4 separate regions of the Homo sapiens genome follow, and regions 1, 2 and 3 are each linked to region 4. The links are contacts of gene promoters, found by promoter capture Hi-C in human tissues and cell types (Jung and others, 2019). All regions are on one chromosome and are shown on one strand. Each heading gives the region's core, a stretch centred on a gene start or on the middle of the fragment in contact. The rest is flanking DNA. Distances are from core to core; before and after follow the strand shown. Region 1 has its middle 14 kb from the start of LINC02032. Region 2 has its middle 28 kb from the start of LINC02046. Region 3 has its middle 160 kb from the start of LINC02032. Region 4 holds the start of ZIC4 (Zic family zinc finger 4).

Region 1 (4,720 bases), core at 134-2,633, 690 kb after region 4:
AAGGACAGGATAACAATCCCTAAGAATGTCAAATCCCTATTCAATCACTATTCTGCTTCTTCTTCCCTTTGCTTCAAAATCTAACCATATCTCCTTATGCTCACCAACAGATGGGGCCAAATTAGGGTTTTTTTGGGAGGTGGTGGTGAGTGCATACATACGTTTGAATCATTCACAGTGGTGAAAGGGAGAAGGAAACTCAAAGCTTCAAGCTCATTTTATCCTTTAAAATGACATTGAGGCCACCAGAGTTGGCTGAGCCCTGTGCAGCCCCAGTCAGGACCTGCTGAAGGTAGCTGTGCTTCTGTTTTCTGTCGTTTATAAAAAATTATCTTCTTGTCAAGATATCCTCAGGTCATTATTTAGTTTAATGAACATTTCAGAATGCCTAGTAGATGTTAGGCATTTCATCAAGTACTGGGAATAAAAAGTGAATGAGACATAAACCTCAACCTGAAGTTGTTCACAACCCATTGAAAAAGAAGAACATATAAACAAATACTTTTGATTTAAAAAAAAGACCTTAAATAGAGATTAGCACACGAGGTTATCTACAGGAACAGCACATGACTATCACAGATGGGGTTAAATGAGGGGTTCACAGGGTAGTTGATAATTTAGTACAGCAACTTGAGTGTAGTCCAAGGACATTAGGAGGAAACACATCTGTAAAGGTCTGATGGTATTTAAGAATAGAATGCATGCTGGAGGAATAGCAAATGATCAGCATGGCTGAAGCAACATAGAGAATGCTGATAGAAATTTGATTAGGTTGAAAAGGTTTATTTTAAGGTTATTAACATAAAGTAATAGTTTCCATTAGCAACAAGTTATTTTAGTCAGACTATAAATATACATTTTTTAAAAAATAGGTTGAGTTAAACAAAAGAGCTTGTTGAATGTTTTTTCTAGGAGTATACTTTGCCCAAGAAAATGTTTATTTACATGTGAAAGAGGATAATGCTAGAGGATCAGCTAATTGGTAACACATATATTACATACAAATTTTAGCTAAATAGATGAATTTTGTGATGTTTTTAATAGTAATAAAAAATTCCATCCTGTTTACCATAAATAGAGGGTTAGTAAAATGAATTTTTAATTATTCATACAATGGAATACTATGGATTCAGTAAAATAAGGATCTGGAAAAACATTGGATTCTATAGAACTGATAGTCATTACATAGACTGTTGGAAGAATAAAAGTAATAAAAGCAGATTCCATAATAAACAGTTAGATCACAACATTTTTTTTGTTTTTTTGTTTTTTTTTTTGAGATAGAGTCTCGCTCTGTCGCCCAGGCTGGAGTGTAATGGTCCAACCTCAGCTCGCCGCAACCTCTTCCTCCCCTCCCAGGTTCAAGAAATTCTCCTGCCTCAGCCTCCCGAGTAGCTGGGATTACAGGTGCACACCACCACACCCAGCTCATTTTTGTATTTTTAGTAGAGACAAGGTTTTACCATGTTGGCCAGGCTGGTCTCAAACTCCTGACCTCAGGTGATCCGCCTGCCTCGGCCTCCCAAAGTGCTGGGATTACAGGTGTGAGCCACCGTGCCCAGCTGGATCTCAATTTTTAAAAAATATACATTTATTTATATCAAAAATACCTTAAAATATGTATTAAAAGTATATTGGTGGTGGTCATCTCAGGGTAGTAGGATTGGGGATGATCTGAACTTTCTTATCTTTAGAGTATCTGTTTAATTTTTTTCTACAATAAATATAAAGTTTTTTAATATAAGAAAAAAATAATGGTTAACACTCAAGGGATAAAATAAACTCTCTAGTTGTAATAAAGACCGTTTTCAAACAGTGATTCCCAGTTCAGTCTTCAAAATGTAGATAAAGCAGTAGAATAATGTCAAGGTGTTTCAATTAGTCTTTGGACCCAACACTCAATGTGGCTGTCCTTATGGTGGTCTGACTAGGTATTATTCGGTCCATGTAATACCATAAGGACAATTCTGTCCAGAAAGTAGCTTCTGTGGTTAGATAAATTTGGCCAACAAGAAAGCATTGGTTGAAGTCCTCTGTAATCTTCTAACACTTATTGCATGTGTATAGTTTTAGGTACAACTTATTGTTCAATTATTTACTTTGGTTTAATAATTATAAATGATAAAAACATATACTTTATGCATTTATCACTGTAGCAATTATCTCAATGGATTCTATCATCCATGCTTTACTTGGAAGACTTGCCAAACATTTTTCTGATTTATTTTACTTTATTTTGTTTAGATTGAAAATTTTACTATTTCCACTGAGCAAATAAACAACAAATAGTTGTTTTTTGTCATTTAAGAGAAAATTATCTTCTTGTCAAGATGTCCTCAGGTCATCAGATAAATTCGAATGTGTTTTATAGTGATTTTGAAATATTATAATCAAAATAGTCCCTCTTTTAAACAGATTTAAATATATATGTGTGTGTGTGTGTGTGTGTGTATATATATATATATATATATTTGATTTTTAAATGGAATCCTTGCATCTACTTCCATGACAATTTTTGAAAAATAAGAATTTTCAAATATGATTTATCATATTCCACACGTGTCTCAAAAATGAGCATCAGTACTTGATAGAGCAAGTACTATTAAAATGTTACTTCACTTCTGAGTGCTTTTTTGGACATTTATCAAAAGGGCAGTCATAAATCATCATTATATTCCTTTTTAAGCAAAAAGAAGAAGCAATACATACAGTTTGTACACCAGCAGTTTCATCCTCTCTTCATGTTGTGGCAGATTAATATCAGCTTAGCCCAAACATCCAAAGTTATGCTGTTGGCAATGTAGCCATCTGTTTTTAATGAATATCTGGGGTCCATTTTTCAGTTAAGCTTCTCTTATTGTGTGTGTATGTTGCATTTTCAGCGCTATCTGCATAATTGCTTAAAGATTTTACTGCAAAATTAATATCCTTGCTGTGAACAAGGCGAAAACCAGGATGACAGAGCCTGAGATGAGGTGAAAAGCAAATCCAATTTTTCCTTGCACCATAGAAACCTCGTCAGGACTAGCTTTATCTGGTAATCCACATTTAAACTTTAACCTGTAGGGGGGCTCTTTGTGTTAGATAATGTAAGCATAAAAGGAGGCTGAATCGCTAATCAGATTAATCATATTTTGTAAGACTCAAAAGCTTCATTAAAAGGAACTGGTATCCAAGTTACACATTGTTGTTGTTGTTGTTGTTGGCAGAATAAGAGTTTATCATTAAAAAAAAAAAAGAATGACATGAAAATGCTCAAATGTCTGCAACTTTTAGTGAACCTATAGCAAACAAGACTAAAAGACCAAATCAAATCCTAATTCATAAAATTACTTTACATCCCAACAGAGTCAACACATAGATTACTTCAGTTTCTTCATATTTTAATCTTAGAAGACAATATTTTATAGAGGTTGTGACAGCTATTATAATTTTTCTGTATTTTGAGGAGTAATCTTCCTTTAATATCTTTATAATATATATATTTATAAATTATATATTATATATGAATTATATATAAATGTAACACATAAATGTATAAAGATACCAGTTGATGATTTATTATTCTAAACCATTTCTCAAAAGCCATTTCTCTCATTTTGTAAGTTGGTTGCTTAAAGGAAGAAAATTTTTTGGAAATAGAGAACTTTCTCAAGAGTAACATGGAAAAGAATGATTTTGTAGGTCCAATATTTTATAAAATATGAATCAAAGAAATGCAGTAATAAATTTGTTGAAAACGAGGGAAAGAAAAAATATTATTTTTGCAAGCAAAGCAAAACTTAAAAAAAAAATATGTAGTTGATAGTCTATAGCATGACTAGGTAATTGTGGGGAAAATGCAACTGTGGGGAAAATGCAATTCTGTGTATAACTTTATGCACACCAAAATCTCCCTTTTGAAAACTCAGCCCTTATACTTTAAATCAACAAATAGTTTTCAGCATATGGTATGTTGACAAATGCTTCTTAACAAAACTGCTCCAATAATAATCTTGGTGAAAGAGCATGCCAAGTAATAGCTATCAAAAATTGTTATTCTGATATCTACCATGTAATTCTGATATCTAGATAGACGCATAAAAACATTACATCAGTTCATTTTTATTAGTACAATAGATATCATTCTAAGGAAAGATCAATTTATAAGATTATATATTAACAGCTGTGGAACTCTAGATCTTAAAATCAACTATACAAAATTGCTAATCAAAATACATAGGTCTTTATAACCAAGTCATTTCAGATGAGGAAACTCAACCAAATGAAATAACAGTATGGTTTGTTAACAACAACAACAAAACAAATGAGAAATAGAAGCAATATCAACAGCTTGCTTAGCATGTGATGATACTACATATAATATCTAAATTAATGAATATTTTAAATTGTATTGTAAAAGATCCAAGTTTACTAACAAATCTGTAGCTTAAATATTAGCAATAATAGTTTCTGAATGAATCATCAATAAATTTAATGTATGCTCTGTCAGCCATATAGATGTATAATTATGTTTTATAACATCAGACTGGTCTAAATCAATAATTTCTGCATTTGTACACTTATGTGTCTATTATCTATTATCCATGATAATGAAAGTACATTTCTAATTTATCCCCAATATTCCAATAGTTTCTATTGCAATATCCTCAATATTCCAATAGTTTCTACTGCAATATCCTCAATATTCCAATAGTTCTATTGCCAATATAAATTCTAC
Region 2 (5,217 bases), core at 931-3,430, 850 kb after region 4:
AGATAAATATAAAATATATTTTTCCCTCAAAGAATGTATAAGCTAGTACAGAAAGCATACCAAAAAGCATTCAATAACGTAATTTTTGTAAGTAACACCAATGCTTATCTACTTTGCAGTTGTTTCTTACTATATGCCAGGCATTGTCCTAAGTGTTTCACTTGGGTGTATTAATTTAATCTTCATAATACAGCTACAAGATTGGTGCTATTAATATCTCCAGTTCATATCCAAAGAAAATGAGACATAGAGAAGTTAAGTAACTTAGTTAAAGTCACACAGCTAGAAAGCAACAAAACAAAGCTAAGATTTGATTTGAGGCACTTGACTCAAGTATAATTAACTTCACCACTGCCTCTTCAGGTATAGAGGCCAACCACCTAAGGTAGTGGTTCTAAACTTTACATGAGCATCAGAATCACCTGGAAGGCTTGCTAAAACACAGATGGAAGAGCTGAACATCCCAGAGTTTCTGATCAGCAGGTCTGAGTTGAGGCTAAAAATCTGTATTTTCTAACAGTGTCTCAGGTGATGTAGATGCTGCTGGTCCTGAAACAAGGCTTTGAGAGCCACTTGCCTATGGTAATGTAGCAGGAGAAGAGGAAACAGAAGTTCATCATGATGGGGTTTTGAACTTCCTTAAGTACATTTAATCTGTTGATAACTGGACTAATGAGACCTTCATTGGTACTGGGGAGTCTTCAAAATGGAAAAGTCAGTCTCCCCTGCTTCCTAGACACTATTGTTCTGACTTCTCAGATTTTAATGCCTATTCAAAGAGTTACAGCAAAACAAAAATCATGGCTTTTATGAGATGACTTATTTGAAAAGGGGTAGCTTTTGTAATTATGATAAAGGAGCACACTCATACAAGAATGGGTTTGTGTGTTTATAGAAAGGAGGAAACAGGTAATAAGTAGGTTAGGTTACTGAAAATGTGAAAGCCTCTCTATGAGATTATTTCCAAGAAAAAACTCTATATTTATTTCTTCATTCAACATATATTTATTGATACCTATTATGTACTGGGCTTATATTAACAAAATATAGTTTTTACTCCCATGAAATGTACATTCTAGGAGGCAGAAACTGGTAATACATGAACATAAATTTATAGTATGTTGGTGGTAATAAGTGCTATAAAGAAAAATAAATCAGGGCAAGGAGTGAGAGTCTATTAAACGGGAAATCAGAGAATGCTTCTCTTGTAAAGTAACATTTGAGAGAGACCCAAATGAAGTGAGGAAGTGAGCCATACAGAAAGCTAGGAATAGAAGCTTTCTAAGTTGCTGGGAATAAGAGCTTTCTAGGCAAGAACATCCCTAAGGCAGGATAATTGCCTCTTTGAGTATAAGAAAGAAGACTAAGGTAGAATGGAGGAGATAAAATCGGGAAATTAGCCAGAATAAGAGGATCATATCTTTTAGACCAAAGTAAGGACTTTGAATTTTATTCTGAGTGAAACAGTAAACCATTCAAATGATTTTAATGGGTCAGGATCACTCTGCCCTTGCTATGGAGAATAAATTAGAAAAGCAAGGGAAAAAGCAGAGAGACTAGATAGGGAAAACTTGCAAATAGCTAGGCAAGAGATGACCTGAATCAGGATGATACCAAAAACGGAGAGAAATATTTGAATCCTGAAAATATTTTTATGTTAGAACCAACAGAATTTATTGATGGTTTGCAAGTTGGGTGTTAATTAAAATTATGTGAAACTTAGGAAATAAGGCAAGAGGTGGATGGCCTTATTGAAAGGATGGCATATCCTTTCAATGTCTTATGGGAACAAAGGCCCATTTAAATGTTATCTCAGTGTAAGAATTTTGGATTAAAGGTACCAGGTTTAGTAAAATTACAGGACAATTTGGAGATGTCTGTCCAATAGATATTCAAATAACCATTGTCTAGTGAAAAAGATAACCCCCAAATTATACTTTATTGCTCTATGGGATACTAACCAGTTTTACATCTAACATAGCAATCCTTTTCTAATATTTATTTCTTAGTTAGCAAGCTTATAAATACACCTTACTGGTTCCCTCTTTAATGTGTCTTTGACATATGTTTATTTTATTTTATACTTGCATGACAGCTATGCTTTCTTTGGAAAATTATACTTTAACATGAGTGAGAGAAAGAAGAAAGGCAAGGATGACACCATGGTTATTGTCTGAGCATTCAAAAGAATGTAGTTGGGAAAGGATGCTTGTGGAGCAGGATGGTGTAGAGGATGAGAATGGAGAGTTTGTTTGTTTGTTTGTTTGTTTATTTATTTATTTATTTATTTATTAGACAGAGTCTTGTTCTGACACCCAGGCTGGAGTGCAGTGGTATGATCTTGGCTCACTGCAACCTCCGCCTCCTCCCGGGTTCAAGCTATTCTTCTGCCTCAGCCTCCCTAGTAGCAGATATTACTGGCGTGCACCATCACACCCGACTGATTTTGTATTTTTAGTAGAGACAGGGTTTCACCATGTTGGTCAGGCTGGTCTTGAACTCCTGACCTCAAGTGATCTGCCCACCTCAGCCTCCCAAAGTGCTGGGATTACAGGCATGAGCCACCGCGCCCAGCCCAGCCATTTACATTTTCATACTGGAGTCATTCATTAGGCAAGTCAAGTTATCAGGCTAGAGGTTACTTTACAAGAAAAGCTTTCTCTGATTTTCTGTTTAATAAACTCCCACCCACACCCTGATTTAGAAAAACAGAACAATGGCTGCAAAGAGATGTGAGTTCAGTGGGAGACAGTATCACATGTTTGCAAACCAGAGACAATTATCATGTAGAGGGGGAAAACAATGCAGGAGTGAAGTTTCTGAGTAGGTTAGAGGAAAACTCAAGTGGAGTTGGCTTCAGATAAAAGGACTAGTAGTTAATACACATAACCAGAGGGATGGCAAAATACAAGGGTCTAGGTGCAGGGCATTTGGCAAACCAAATAATAGCAACAATTGCAAAGTTCTTCTGATTGCTTCTATTTTGTCAGTGAAACAAAAAATAAGTCATTGTCTGATACTCTGGAGAAGGAGGAGGCATCAGAGATTTGAAGTGAAAGGAAGAAGTGTGAAATCATTGTTTAAGGGAAAATGGGAAATGAAATGTCCAGGGAAATATCAAACAGGATGTCTATTAAGTAGCCCTAAAGGTCCCACTTAAGAGTTTTGTGGTCAAGAATTTAATGTGAGATGGTTAATTATGTTATGGTCTCCTCTGGCAATACTCAGCTAAATAGATACAAGCACCATGTAGTTAAAGAATTGGATGTAACTAGAGTTGGGACTGTGTTGGGAAGATATTATTTGGTAAGAGACTAGCAAAGGAATTCATTCAAAGAGGTGTTGCTAAAGGTAGACTATAGAATCCAAGGTTGGTAAAAAGATAGTGACAGTGAAAAGCTCATAGAGATAATGGACTAGAGGTCCTGGTGGTGCAAAAGAATAAAAACCTTATCAAGCAAAAAAAATATGGCTACAATATTAAGTCAATATTTGTAGTCAAATACTGACTTAGGACTGTAAAAAATTAGAGTGCAGCTTTGTATGCTTTTTTCATTCCGACAAAACTTTTTCCATTTAACTCTTCTCTTTTTTTGAGACAGGGTCTTCTACTGTCACCCAGGCTGGAGTCCAGTGGCGCCATCTCAGCTCACTGCAACCTCCACCTCCCAGGTTCAAGGAATTCTGCTGTCTCAGTCTCCCGGGTAGCTGGGATTACAGGTGCCCACCACTATGCCTGGCTAATTTTTGTATTTTTAGTAGAGACTGGGTTTCATCATGTTGGCCAGGCTGGTCTCAAACTCCTAACCTCAAGTGATCGGCCTGCCTCAGCCTCCCAAAGTGTGGGGATTACAGGTGTGAGCCACTGTGCCCGGCCCCTTCATCTCTTCTTAAAGCAGAGCTAACTGAATAGGAAAGGAAATATGTGTGGAAGCGTAGGGATGGGTGCATAAAGGAAAAAAAAAAAAAGAAAGAAAGAAAAGTAAGAAAATCTCCAATTTAAAGGAGTTCCTGAGACCCTACGGGCTCAGAATAAAACAGATCATCCATTGGGGCATAAGAAGAGCGATTTACCTCAAGCAGCATTTAAGTCATGACCATTGCCCCTTCTGGGTGGGCAATGAGACTGTCTTTCCTGTGACTCCCCACAGCACCTAGTACAGTGCTCATTATCTTTAATAGATTATTAACCAACAAGGGCAGAATACAAAGGGAAAATCTTTTGCCAAGGTCATTTTCTTTTTTAAAAAAATTGTACTCCTGCTTCAGTTTGTTAAAGCAAGGGCCAGAAATAGTGTGTAGAATTTCCAATTACAGCACAAGATCACTCTTCTAAACTCATATTCTCACACAATTTCTTTAGAAAGTGATATTTTAGAGATAAGAAAATGAGGTGCATATATTTATGCTATTAAATTAAATAATGTAAGACCTAGGTACAGTAGTTTCACAGAATTTTTCCAACATTGTTATACACAAAATTACCTGCTAGCTAATATTTTAAACCTGATAATTTAAAAACCCCATAATATCACCATTAGAAATTTACTAGTTTATCAGGCAATAAAAATACTTACAAAATCAAAGGCAGAATTAGCCTAAACAGGGTTGTATGTAAAGATGATTTTTTAAGAGACAAGTTTATTTGTCTTTTCCTTTTTTTCAGCATCACTAATACAGTTTTGAAAGTTTATCTTTAAATTAAAAGAAGTGTGAAGGGAAACAAAAATTCCACATCTGATGTTCTAAATTTTAGCTTGCTTTTATTATTTCTACAGAGCAGTATTGTCTAACTAAGAATAGTCTATCAATATTAGAACAAACAAGCTAGTAAAGTGGCCCAGCTCTTTCCCAGGTGGATTCACATCACATGGAATGATTATGTCACAAAGTGTGCTCAGTCCCATATACCTCCCTATCCTTTCTATGAGTTACATGGAAAGCCCCACTTTTGGAGACGGTCTAGGTTCAAATTTTGCCTCAGAGATGTAGGTCAAGGTGAGCTGGATAGATGGCAGTTTTCCAAGGGCCCTCTCTCACATACCATTTGCAAGATATGATCCCCTCCACTGCTAGAGTTCCTCTAGAGGAAGAGCTCTGTGAGATGAGAGCCAAGTCCCTGAAAATGCAAAAAGACAGAAGACCAAATGCTGAAGACCATGTCATGAGCCCTGAATGCTTGAGCAAACAAGAAAGCAAGGATCTGAGTCTGAGCTA
Region 3 (4,648 bases), core at 617-3,116, 520 kb after region 4:
AATTTAAGGAGCAATGTGGTGCTATTAGCCTGTGTGAAAATCTCAAGAGGACTTTTATCAATCACAAGGAAGTACATTTTATATTTTCTCTCAGAGGTTGTCTTTGTTCTCCATAATTATTATCACAGCTCCATTATATCTGGGTCTCTGATGTGAAGTACTTTTTTTCAAAAGAATAATGCTCACCTTTCTATAACTTTAAAAACATATTTAAAAGAATTTATATTGTATTTTAAACATTTTAAAGACATTGACATGTTTTAACATGATTAAAAACACACAAGTAAAATGTTTATGATGTAAACACGTGCTTTCATTTATGCATCTAAAGTAGTTTTGTGTTCTAAGAATTTATTCATTAATCTGTAAGACCACAAGAGTAAATTATAACATATAGTGTTCAGAAATGAAAATGTAGCAATGTTACAACTGTTCATTTTGTGCTAATGTGAATGTTCAAATAGATCCTGATGCAAAAAAAAAATGTTCAAAAGAAAGAAGTCATGTAAATACCAAGATGGGTTGAAAATCAGGAATCTTTAACAGAAGGCACGAGTAGTGAATCATTTCAGTTTTGTGTGAAATTGTTTTAGTTACAGATGCCAAGAGAAAAGCAAATGACTGCAAAACAGAGAGGGAAGGGTTCCTACTGTTGTTTAACAGACATGTGCTAGTTCTTCCTCTGTTAGACAAAAACAGTCACAGAAACTATGGAGCTGGGATGGCAGCCATATTTTTTTCAAAAAGTCTGTGGTTGTAGTTTGCAGTAAGTGAGAAGCTGAATGAAAAAATAGATCTGGCTGAAGATTTTTACTCAGAGGTGACAGTCGATATCTGAAGAAGTAAAGAGAAGTAAACTAGTTTATCTAATTAAAGCTTTTGATAACGTATATGGCTCACTTACTAATAACTAACCTGGGATTTACTGTTTGTGAAGTGTTTCACATTAAAATATTTCTAAAGAAAGTACTTGAACATGAACACTCAATTAGAATATTGTATCGAGCACTTAAAATTTACCATATGTGTTTTTTTCTAAAGCATGTTCTCTCCACTTCATTAAAAATGAAACAAAAAAACCAACACATAACATGACAACAACAGAAAACCTCACAATAAAAAACTGACTTTTAGTAACTAATAGAGAAAGAGACTCTAGGCCCAGTTGGATGAAACAGACTGACTTGAGAGCAACCATATTTTAAGACTGTAAGCTTAAATCTAAGAACCTTAAAGTTGGATTTGTTCAACTTCACAAAATGTCCCAGCTGCCTCAGTGTCCCCATATAATTCCAGTATTCTGTAGCAATTGGACAAAAAAAGATAGGCAGTAAAATAGTTAATTATAGCCATTTCTTTTTGCTGTATTAGGCAATTGACCATACATTTTATGTTGTCTTTTGATATTTAAACTGGTCTCTCTACCAGTTATGAAGATAAAGAAAACTCAATAGGTAGGTTAAAGAAATATATTTAGTGTGGCTCTGTTGAGCTGTGGTCCGAAAGTCAGAGACTTTTTTTCAATTAAAAAAAGGAAGACTTATGATTTTGGAATCATCATACCAAGCCTGATTTTCCTACCTCTATGTGGCACCAAAACAATATTTTTTTTTATTGTTTTTTTTTTTTAGTTGGAGTCTCGCTCTTGTCACCCAGGCTGGAGTGCAATGACATGATCTTGGCTCACTGCAACCTCTGTCTCCCGGGTTCAGGCAATTCTCCTACCTCAGCCTCCCAAGTAGCTGGAATTACAGGTGCCCGTCACCATGTCCAGTTGCTTTTTTGTGTTTTTAGTTCAGAGGGGGTTTCACCATGTTGGCCAGGCTGACCTCAGGTAACCTTCCCCCTCAGCCTCCCAAAGTGCTGGGATTACAGGTATGAGCCACAGTGTGCGGCCACGAAAACAAATTTTTACAATGTTTAATTCACGATTTTCCCCCATCAGAAGTTTCCCCCATCTGAATCTTTCCCAGCTGATTTAGAGATTCTGACTATCCATCTCCTTTTTCAAAGTTTGGAAGTAGTCATTAATATCTCCAGTACATCTCATTGTAAACACATGTTTACATGCAACTTGAAGGTTAATTCCTCAGAAGTAGCTTCTCCCTAGAATACTCTACTGGAAATGATAATGTACAATATAGTAAAAAACTCAGATAAATGTTTTAAAAGTAGGAAATAATATTAGGATTATGATTTTTGTAGATTGTAGTTTCTGCTTCTTAATTGTTAGTGTTTTAGTGTATCTTAGTTCAGGCTACTATCAGAGAATACCTGAGATGGCTTAAAAAGCAAAAGTATATCTCTAATAGTTCTGAAGGTGCCAGCAGATCTGGTGTCTACTGAGGACATACTTCCTGGTTTGCAGACAACTATCTTCTTGTACCATTACATGGCTGAGAGAAAAATCATCTTCCTCATGCTTCTTCTTATAAGTGCATTAATCCCATCAAGAGGAGTCCATCCTTATGACCTCCTACCTCCCAAAGTCCCCACCTCCTAAAACTGTCACCTTGGAGTTAGGATTTCAGCATGTGACTTTTGGGAGGACACAGACATTAGGTCCACAGCACAGGGGATTTGGGAGAAACACTCACTGCAAACTTCAACCTTAATAGCCATAGCACATTAATTCCAACTTTGCTTTAAGAATGCTATGGAAATTTTGCTTATAACTATGGACTGTTGTTTGTAGAGATCATAAAGTTGAAGTTATTTATATAAGAAATGCATACATATATACTTATATGTTATTTTCTGTAGACCATCTAAGATGTGGGAAAGGCTGTATTAAAACAGATTTTAAAGACCATGTTGGGGCAGCTGAGAGCATATCTCAGAAATTTATCTTCCATATTAAGAAGAAAATGCCTGTCAAGTTAGGGCTTGGATGGGCAGGGGACCCCATTCACAAAGAAGATGCCCTTTTTGAGAGGCTGACATGAGAAGCTGTGACTTCGCATGTCACAGCGAGACACCCCAAGAGGCAGAGCTGCACAAACAGCTTTTACATGAAAGTTCTGTGAGAATGGCATCTTTACTCCTGGCTGATTTGCCCAACATTTCAGAATATCCAGGACCTGTTCTCCATCCTACATTCACCTTCCTCCACAAAAATTAAGGCAGAAACTTTTGGAGGGAGACAGAATGAACCAGCCAACCATACCCTTTACTTTATTTATTTTTTGATACAGAGTCTCACTCAGTTGCCCAGGCTGGAGTGTAGTGGCCCGATCTTGGCTCACTATAACCTCTGCCTCCTGGATTCAAGTGATTCTCCTGCCTCATCCTCTCAAGTAGCTGGGATTACAGGCGCCTGCCCCCTTTCTGGCTAATTTTTGTATTTTTAGTACAGACAGGGTTTCACCATGTTGGCTAGGCTGATCTCGAACTCCTGACCTCATGTGATCCACCTGCCTCGGCCTCCCAAAGTGCTGGGATTACAGGCGTGAGCCATTGTGCCCAGCCATACTCCTTACTTTTCCTCTGCTTGCTGTCTCCTGTTTGTTATCTATGTGGAAAGGGACAAGAGAAATAGACACAGAAAGTGGCTTAGAGATAACTTAGATTTTTCTAACTGCCCTAGAGTTAAAGCAATTTACTAAAGATTAAATCTAAGAAACCTCAATTAAGGCTTTGAAATTCATACCTAATGCAGTATAAAATGGGTAGATTTTTAGTAAGGTATGATGCTGAGGAATTTCTTATTGCCCAAGGAGAACAAAGTTCATGTGAATCAAGCTAAGACCAAACAGAAAACTCTATTAATAACCTAGCTTCAAATATTAAAATATTCATAAAAGTTTCACAAAGAACAACATAGCTGGGGTAGGTCACAGATCTCATGAGTTTTATAAAGGATACTCAAGGTTTTTTAACAGCTTGAAACATTGTGCCACTTGATAAAAATCTTAAAAAGCAGAGAATTTTTATTTTACTTTTGTTGGTCCCATGATACTGTTTTGAAAATCAACAGCAATCAATTTATTTTATGAGTCAGGGTAGGCCTATAATACAAACCAGTAATTTGAGTAATTTTTGCAAGTCAACCAAAATTATGAAAATAAATTTCTTCTTAACCAAAAGATACATTTGCTCCAATCATCTGTGTATTTTAAACTGAACCTATGAAGTAGAAAGTTCTAAAAAGCAACCCTGAAAATTTGATGGTGCATTTGTTGTTGCTATATAATAATCTACCCCCAAATTAAGTAGCTTAAAACAATCATTTTATTTACTTCATATTTCTATGTGTCATTAATTTAGCTGGGCTCAGTTGTGCAATTCTTTTGCTGGTCTTGGCTTCTCTCAAGCAACTGAGGCCAATTAATGGGTCTGCTGGTAGATAGAAGATGTGTTTAGCTGGGTCAGCTGCTCCTGTGGTCTCTGACCATCTGGCAGACGAACTTGAGCTCTCCACATAGAGTCTCATGGTTCTAAAATGCAGTGAGAAGTGCAAGCTCCAATGCACCATAACTTTCAAGTCTCTACTTGTATCTTATTTGCTACATCCCATTGGCAAGGCAAGTCACAAAGCCAAGTACAGATTTAATTTTTTTAATTTTTATATATATATGTGAGTGTGTATATATATATGTGTGTGTGTATATATGTGTGTGTATATATATTTTTATATATATTTTTATAT
Region 4 (5,424 bases), core at 2,473-4,972:
GAAGAAAAGAGTGACAGTCACTAGTTAAACAATTTTACACGTCTGTGTGGCAACATCCTGTGGTTTGAATGTATGAATGAAAGAAGGAGTTGATCTGAAGATCTTTCGGTCTTTCTTTGACCATTTTCAAATTTTGAAGCTAAAGAAAAGGATTTTGCCGGGAACAGCCCATATTGCAAAATGATATATCTTTGGTGATAAAAACATTGAAAAATTATAATTTCCCAGCTAGGCTTTTATTTGAAACTCCTTTGTTGTTTTTTGCAAGCAGAAGTAATCTCTCTTTTAGTCAGTGCTCAAAAATCTGTAGCTTCCCAAATTTGAATTAATTGCGTAAGAAACCTTATTATTTTTCAGAAGTTTATTAACTGAAATTTAGTGAGGTGTGGTGGGGAGAGCCTACTGAACTCTGAGAGGTTAGCAGCTAAAATTTGATTTATAACTGTTGGAACCAAGAGGAGAGGAATTTCTTTGCAGGTTTTCAAATCCTGTTCTGCCTGTGGTGGTGCAGAATTCCTTAGCCTCACATTTCCCATACCCCAGACCCATTTGGGATTCATCACCGGTTGACTTTTTAAAGTTAATATAAAATTTGTCAGGTTAAAAAGGTATAATTTTAATCGTTTGGTTCAAATCATCCACATTTCATAGTTGAGAAGGGTAGAAATAACACCTCCCATAAGATATACACATTACTCATCAGATTCACTTTGTGACTAAAGTTACCAAGCCATTGGCCGCCTTAAATACTTAAAGCCATCCTGAGGACCTCTGCATCTGTCAGGCAAGGCTGAGGCAGTTGAGCAGCCAGACAGAAGCATCTATCCGGCCCCCACCCTCAATTTGGCCTAGAAAGAAAAACAGTCATTGAAAAGGTCTCAGGCTGGACAAACACAGCAAGTCCTCTGTCAATGGGGATGTCTGCCCACAGAACAAGCAGTTGTTTAACTTGTTGAACCACAGGCCAAATCCAAGTGGGACTCTGTTATCTTAAACGGTATCCAGTTCTCTATGCACAAAGATCTCTCTCTCTCTCTCTCCCCCTCAACGTCCAACCAGAATTCCAACTGGCTTGGCGGCTTTTACCCTTCCATCTCCCCTCTTTTCTAGGTCCAGGCCTAGGAGGCAGGGGGGTAGACTCACCTTTTCCCAGAGGGTATTATTATTTTCAATTCTTTCTAACCAAAAGGCATTCTTCCCCAAAGGTAATAAGCTCCTTCCAGCACAAATCAGGAAAGAAAGGAGGCCTAACTTTGCATTCCTACAGAAGGGCGGCATGCTGGGCGTCCTCGCTCTGAAATTTCCTCATGGCAGGATGTCTGGCATGGAAAAGTCCTGGTTGGTTGGCAATAATAGAATTTACTCTTTTGCTTCTGGGGGAAATGGGTGTGAGGTTCCCTAGAGATCCCTGTCCACCCATAAGGCAGCCCCAACCCAACTTCTAAGAGGTCTGGATCACTTCTCTCCCAGGTCCTGTCAGCCTTTTGTGCACTACAGACCCATAGACATGCAAACAAATATTGCAGAGATTGGACTAGGGCAGGCAACAGGGACCTTAGGAGGCTCTCTGTAGCGTTTCCATCACACAGCCTACACAGGGAACTAGGGTAAACATCTCCTTTAGTTCAAACTCTGACACCACTTAGCAAACAAGCCAGTCATCTTGCTGAAAGAGAGGTGAGAGAATTTGGGAGCAATCCTGGGGCCCGTGGACCTGAGGTCCCAAACAACCACGGAATGTAGAAACTCAGTTTCGTTTTCCCCAAATGCTTGCTCCCCACATCAACCACGGCCTCCTAATTACCAGTCCATAGCACATCCTGGAGACTTTTTGGAATCTGCCCTCCTGGCCCCACCTTGAGAAGAGGAACGGGTGCCAGGGAGCTCCAGTGATTGATAGTGCCGGAGGAGAGCCAAGAAGGTGGGACAGTGGGTAGGTGCAAAAAGCACCATTTTTATTTGGGGGAGCCTCGGAAGCTGCAAATTGTGGGGCCGACCTAGCCGGCGCAGGACTACCCAAGGTCAGAGGTCAGCTGCAGCTAGAGACTTCAGTTCCCGAGCTGCTCCTTACTGACTAGCCGGCAGGCGCGGGAAAGGCATGCCCACCTCTCCGCTGCAACTTGTCCCTGGCGGGCGCAGAGCAAAAACCCTGAAAGCTGGCAGGGAGCTCTGAGCCAGAGAGGAAACTGGCCCCGGCCTTTGCCCGCTGCCTGATTTACTCATCTGCACCCTGCACCTTTCTGGCTCCCCTCCATTCGACCCTCAAGCGCCAGGAGTTTGCTGAGGCTGGGTTGTGCAGGGGCCTTTACTCATTCTCCTGTTCTCTAGAGGGAGAAGCTTGGGTTTCCCAGCTCGGGGCTGAAGTAAGTGTGGGCAGCATCCGGGTGCCCAGAATAGAGTTTGTATCAGTAGATCAGGCTGGGCATTTAGCCCTCCCTTTGAATCACCCCTCCCCCAACCTGCAGGCGGCTGAGACAGGAGAAAAAAGAGCAGCATGCAGTGGTGTGGGTCGCTGCGAGGACAATACTGTCGGAAAGCGGGGAAAACATGACCTTGGAATCCAAAGGGAGTTTCCTGAAGACGGTGACGGCCGAAGTGCAACCCTCCAAAAGCCCCTCCGCTTTCCTAAGACTTTGACATGGGCCATTCATCAACCCCAACTTTCAGATCCAACCTTTGAGCCAGTCCTAGCTTTCTTTCACAGCTCAGCTCTATTCCCTCCTCATTGGCCCCTAATTTCCAATGCCCCTGGGTCTAGGCTAGGGGCCAGAATCCTAGGAGCTGCGGCCTGCTCCCCAGAGAGCTAGTTGCTGCTCTTGTTCGCATTGGAGATAAAGAAAGCCAAGTCCCGAACCCACTGCTGGCCGCGCGCAGAGAGCAGATCCCAGCAGTCAGCTTCCTGAGGCAGGACCAGGGTGAGGGAGGGCAAGGAGCCGCCCTGAGGTGGACTCAGGCGGCATCTGCCGTCAGGTTGGGGCGGAGAAGTTCCATCGTCTTGCTGCCATCTGGGCTAACTTGGCGCTTTGACCCTGGAGAGGGGAAGCAGAGACTCTCCTAGCCACCCCCTTGGGGGCAGAGCAGAGATACCTCCTGTAAAGGCCCCCTCCCGGCACCCGCCTTGCTCATTTTTCGCGAGGGAAGCTCTGGGCCACGACTTCCATTCTTGTGCCCACGGTGGGGCACCCAGGCAATTCACAAGGAGAGAAGGGAAGGCAGGCAGGCAACAAACTGCTCCTGGTTCCTGTGCCAGTGGGAGCCCCATTTGTACCCCTTTTCCCTCCTCCTGGGAAGAAGGGATGGACTCATCCTCTGCGTTGCCCCTTTGCGGAAGGGCCCCCTCCTCCCCTTAGTGTCAGTGGGGTGGGGCCTTTATCCACGGTTGGGGGAGGGGGGTAGGATGAAGGAGGAGATGGGGCAGAAAGACTGGCTGGGCCTCTTCCCCCACTGGGGTTTGGGTGCCAGTGGTCCCCTTGAGGGTACTTGCTACCCGGTCGCTGGAGGTACAGTTCTCATCTGTCTGCCCCCTGGACTCACGCACTTACCCCACTCCACCTGTTGCCAGGATCGCCTCATTTCTGCACATCATTTCGGGGTGGCTGAGAGGGGACCACAAACCCCTCCAAGCCTCTCTTTTGTGGTTCCAGCGAGGCGGTCATCCTTCACTTCTCCTTTTCCAGCTTTCAGGAAGCAGTTAGGGAATGTATGATGAAGCAGAAATGAGCCGTCAGGATGATATTTTAATGGCTTATATGTCACGTTGGTGCATGTGGCTTTGAACTGGAGCCGTTCGCGTTTCCTGCAGAGAGCGCCGCAAATCCCACTTGATAACTTCTACAACCCACAACTTTTTTTTTTCTCACATTCACTCTTACCCTGTATATTTGGATGTGTTTCCTAAAAATACCCTCTTGTCAACGTCCCCGTTGGATTTTCCACGGACTGGAGAGGAGAAGACTGACTTTTCTTTTTTGAAGAATTATTTTCCCTCTCCCCCTCCCAACAGCTACCCTTCCCCCCTTAGGTCCCCTCCCTTGTTGTGTGTGTGTGTGTGCGCCCGCGTGTGTTTCCTGAAAGGCGGGCGAGGTGGGTTCAATATCTGTTCTCCCTAGTGAGAGGAATACAGCCTCTAGAGAAAACTTCTCCATACAGATGAGGTTTTCTAAACTCCAGGGGAAGCAGGATCCAACTTCCCCTTGTAGGTAAAAAGACTTAGTGCCTCCGATATATCTTTTTTTTTTCCAACCAAGTGTACAATAATTTTTAAAGATACCTCGGCCCTTTCTTTACCTCCACTCCTCATTCCATTCCACTCAAAGTTGGTGGGAAATGCTGGGCTGCTAGACTCAGACTTGTTGATGGGAACAGAACAATTAATTTTTTTTCCGAATTTATATTTCCCGGCACAAGCACAAATGCTCAGCCAGGTCCCTTCAGGCACCGGGAAATCATCCCGGATACCCAAGCCGACTTTTGAGCAAGCACAGCCCATGGAAAGGGCAGTCCCGCCGGCCAGCCCCAAGCGAGAATCTAGTTGGTGAGAAGACCAGAAAACCAGAAAGGCGAGGAGCGGCGGACGCTGACCCTGCCTTCCTCCAGCCCGTGCAGTCAGCGCTGGCGTCAGGGCAAAAAATATATTCATTTTCATTTTCCTCTCGCTGGGGCACGGTGAGTTTCCTAACCGGGCCGCCTATGAAAGGATGAGTTGAGGTTTCTTTGTTTGGAAAAAGAGTTTAGGGCTTTGATTCAGCTGCAAAGAAGCCAAATGAAGTTAGAAACAAAGGGTAAATTGAAGGATTCCGACTCTTGGCTTTTTGTGTTTTCCTTACTAGAAAATAATTAGACCTAATGAATATGCAGACGCTTCAGCTAAAGCCTCGGCCAGGACTGCTGGGTTTTAAACAGAGCTGCGGAGAAATGCAACCTTCGTCCCCACAACCCCCCGCATCCGCGTGCATTTTTTGAAATGCATAAATGTTGCTCGGCTTAATTGATTGAGTCACAGGGATTTTTTTTTCCTGCTTTTAAGTACCATACTCCCCTACCTTTCAACAATCATTTTAATATATAGTCAATGGCTCTTTGTGGAAGGGACAAAAAGAAACTACGCGCAGTTGTTGAATAGACTTTGCGCTAGGCAAAGACAGGTTAATCGAGGGCCGCATCGCGAAAACAAGCGAGTGTTGTATGTTTGCACTGAATCCAAATGTCTGCATTTTCCTAACTAAATCAAAGGGAGTGTTATTTCTTTTTCTGCTCACTCATCTGAAGGTAAGTAAATTTTCTCTGGCGATCAAAAGCCTGGTCGGCAACAAAGACCGCGCCCGCTTTTTCCACCGTCCTGGTGTGGCGAGTTGCGGAATTTCAATAACTGTGACAAGGGTGACTGATTTGTGAACTAGAAAAGGTTTGAATGTCACAAAATTT

The links. The method cuts DNA at HindIII sites, captures the fragments that hold promoters and counts their contacts. A contact is called where the count stands out against the background at its distance.
Region 1: a fragment that was not itself captured here is called in contact with the fragment with the promoter of ZIC4 in region 4 in 3 of the 25 tissues and cell types used here (H1 embryonic stem cells, dorsolateral prefrontal cortex and thymus).
Region 2: a contact is called between a fragment that was not itself captured here and the fragment with the promoter of ZIC4 in region 4, in 2 of the 25 tissues and cell types used here (H1 embryonic stem cells and dorsolateral prefrontal cortex).
Region 3: a contact is called between a fragment that was not itself captured here and the fragment with the promoter of ZIC4 in region 4, in 1 of the 25 tissues and cell types used here (hippocampus).

Annotation. Positions count from the first base shown.
Region 1 is chr3:148,090,171-148,094,890 of GRCh38, forward strand. No RefSeq gene overlaps it. Among named protein-coding and RNA genes, the nearest start is that of LINC02032, 14 kb to the left of the region's middle. The HindIII fragment of the contact is 3,232 bases long and covers 1-2,999 here.
Region 2 is chr3:148,250,434-148,255,650 of GRCh38, forward strand. No RefSeq gene overlaps it. Among named protein-coding and RNA genes, the nearest start is that of LINC02046, 28 kb to the right of the region's middle. The HindIII fragment of the contact is 4,295 bases long and covers 34-4,328 here.
Region 3 is chr3:147,920,582-147,925,229 of GRCh38, forward strand. No RefSeq gene overlaps it. Among named protein-coding and RNA genes, the nearest start is that of LINC02032, 160 kb to the right of the region's middle. The HindIII fragment of the contact is 3,466 bases long and covers 134-3,599 here.
Region 4 is chr3:147,402,821-147,408,244 of GRCh38, forward strand. ZIC4 (Zic family zinc finger 4) reads right to left here and starts at 3,723. Exons shown (of 5, transcript NM_032153.6): 1 at 3,543-3,723. RefSeq lists an enhancer at 4,539-5,424. The HindIII fragment of the contact is 11,475 bases long and covers 688-5,424 here.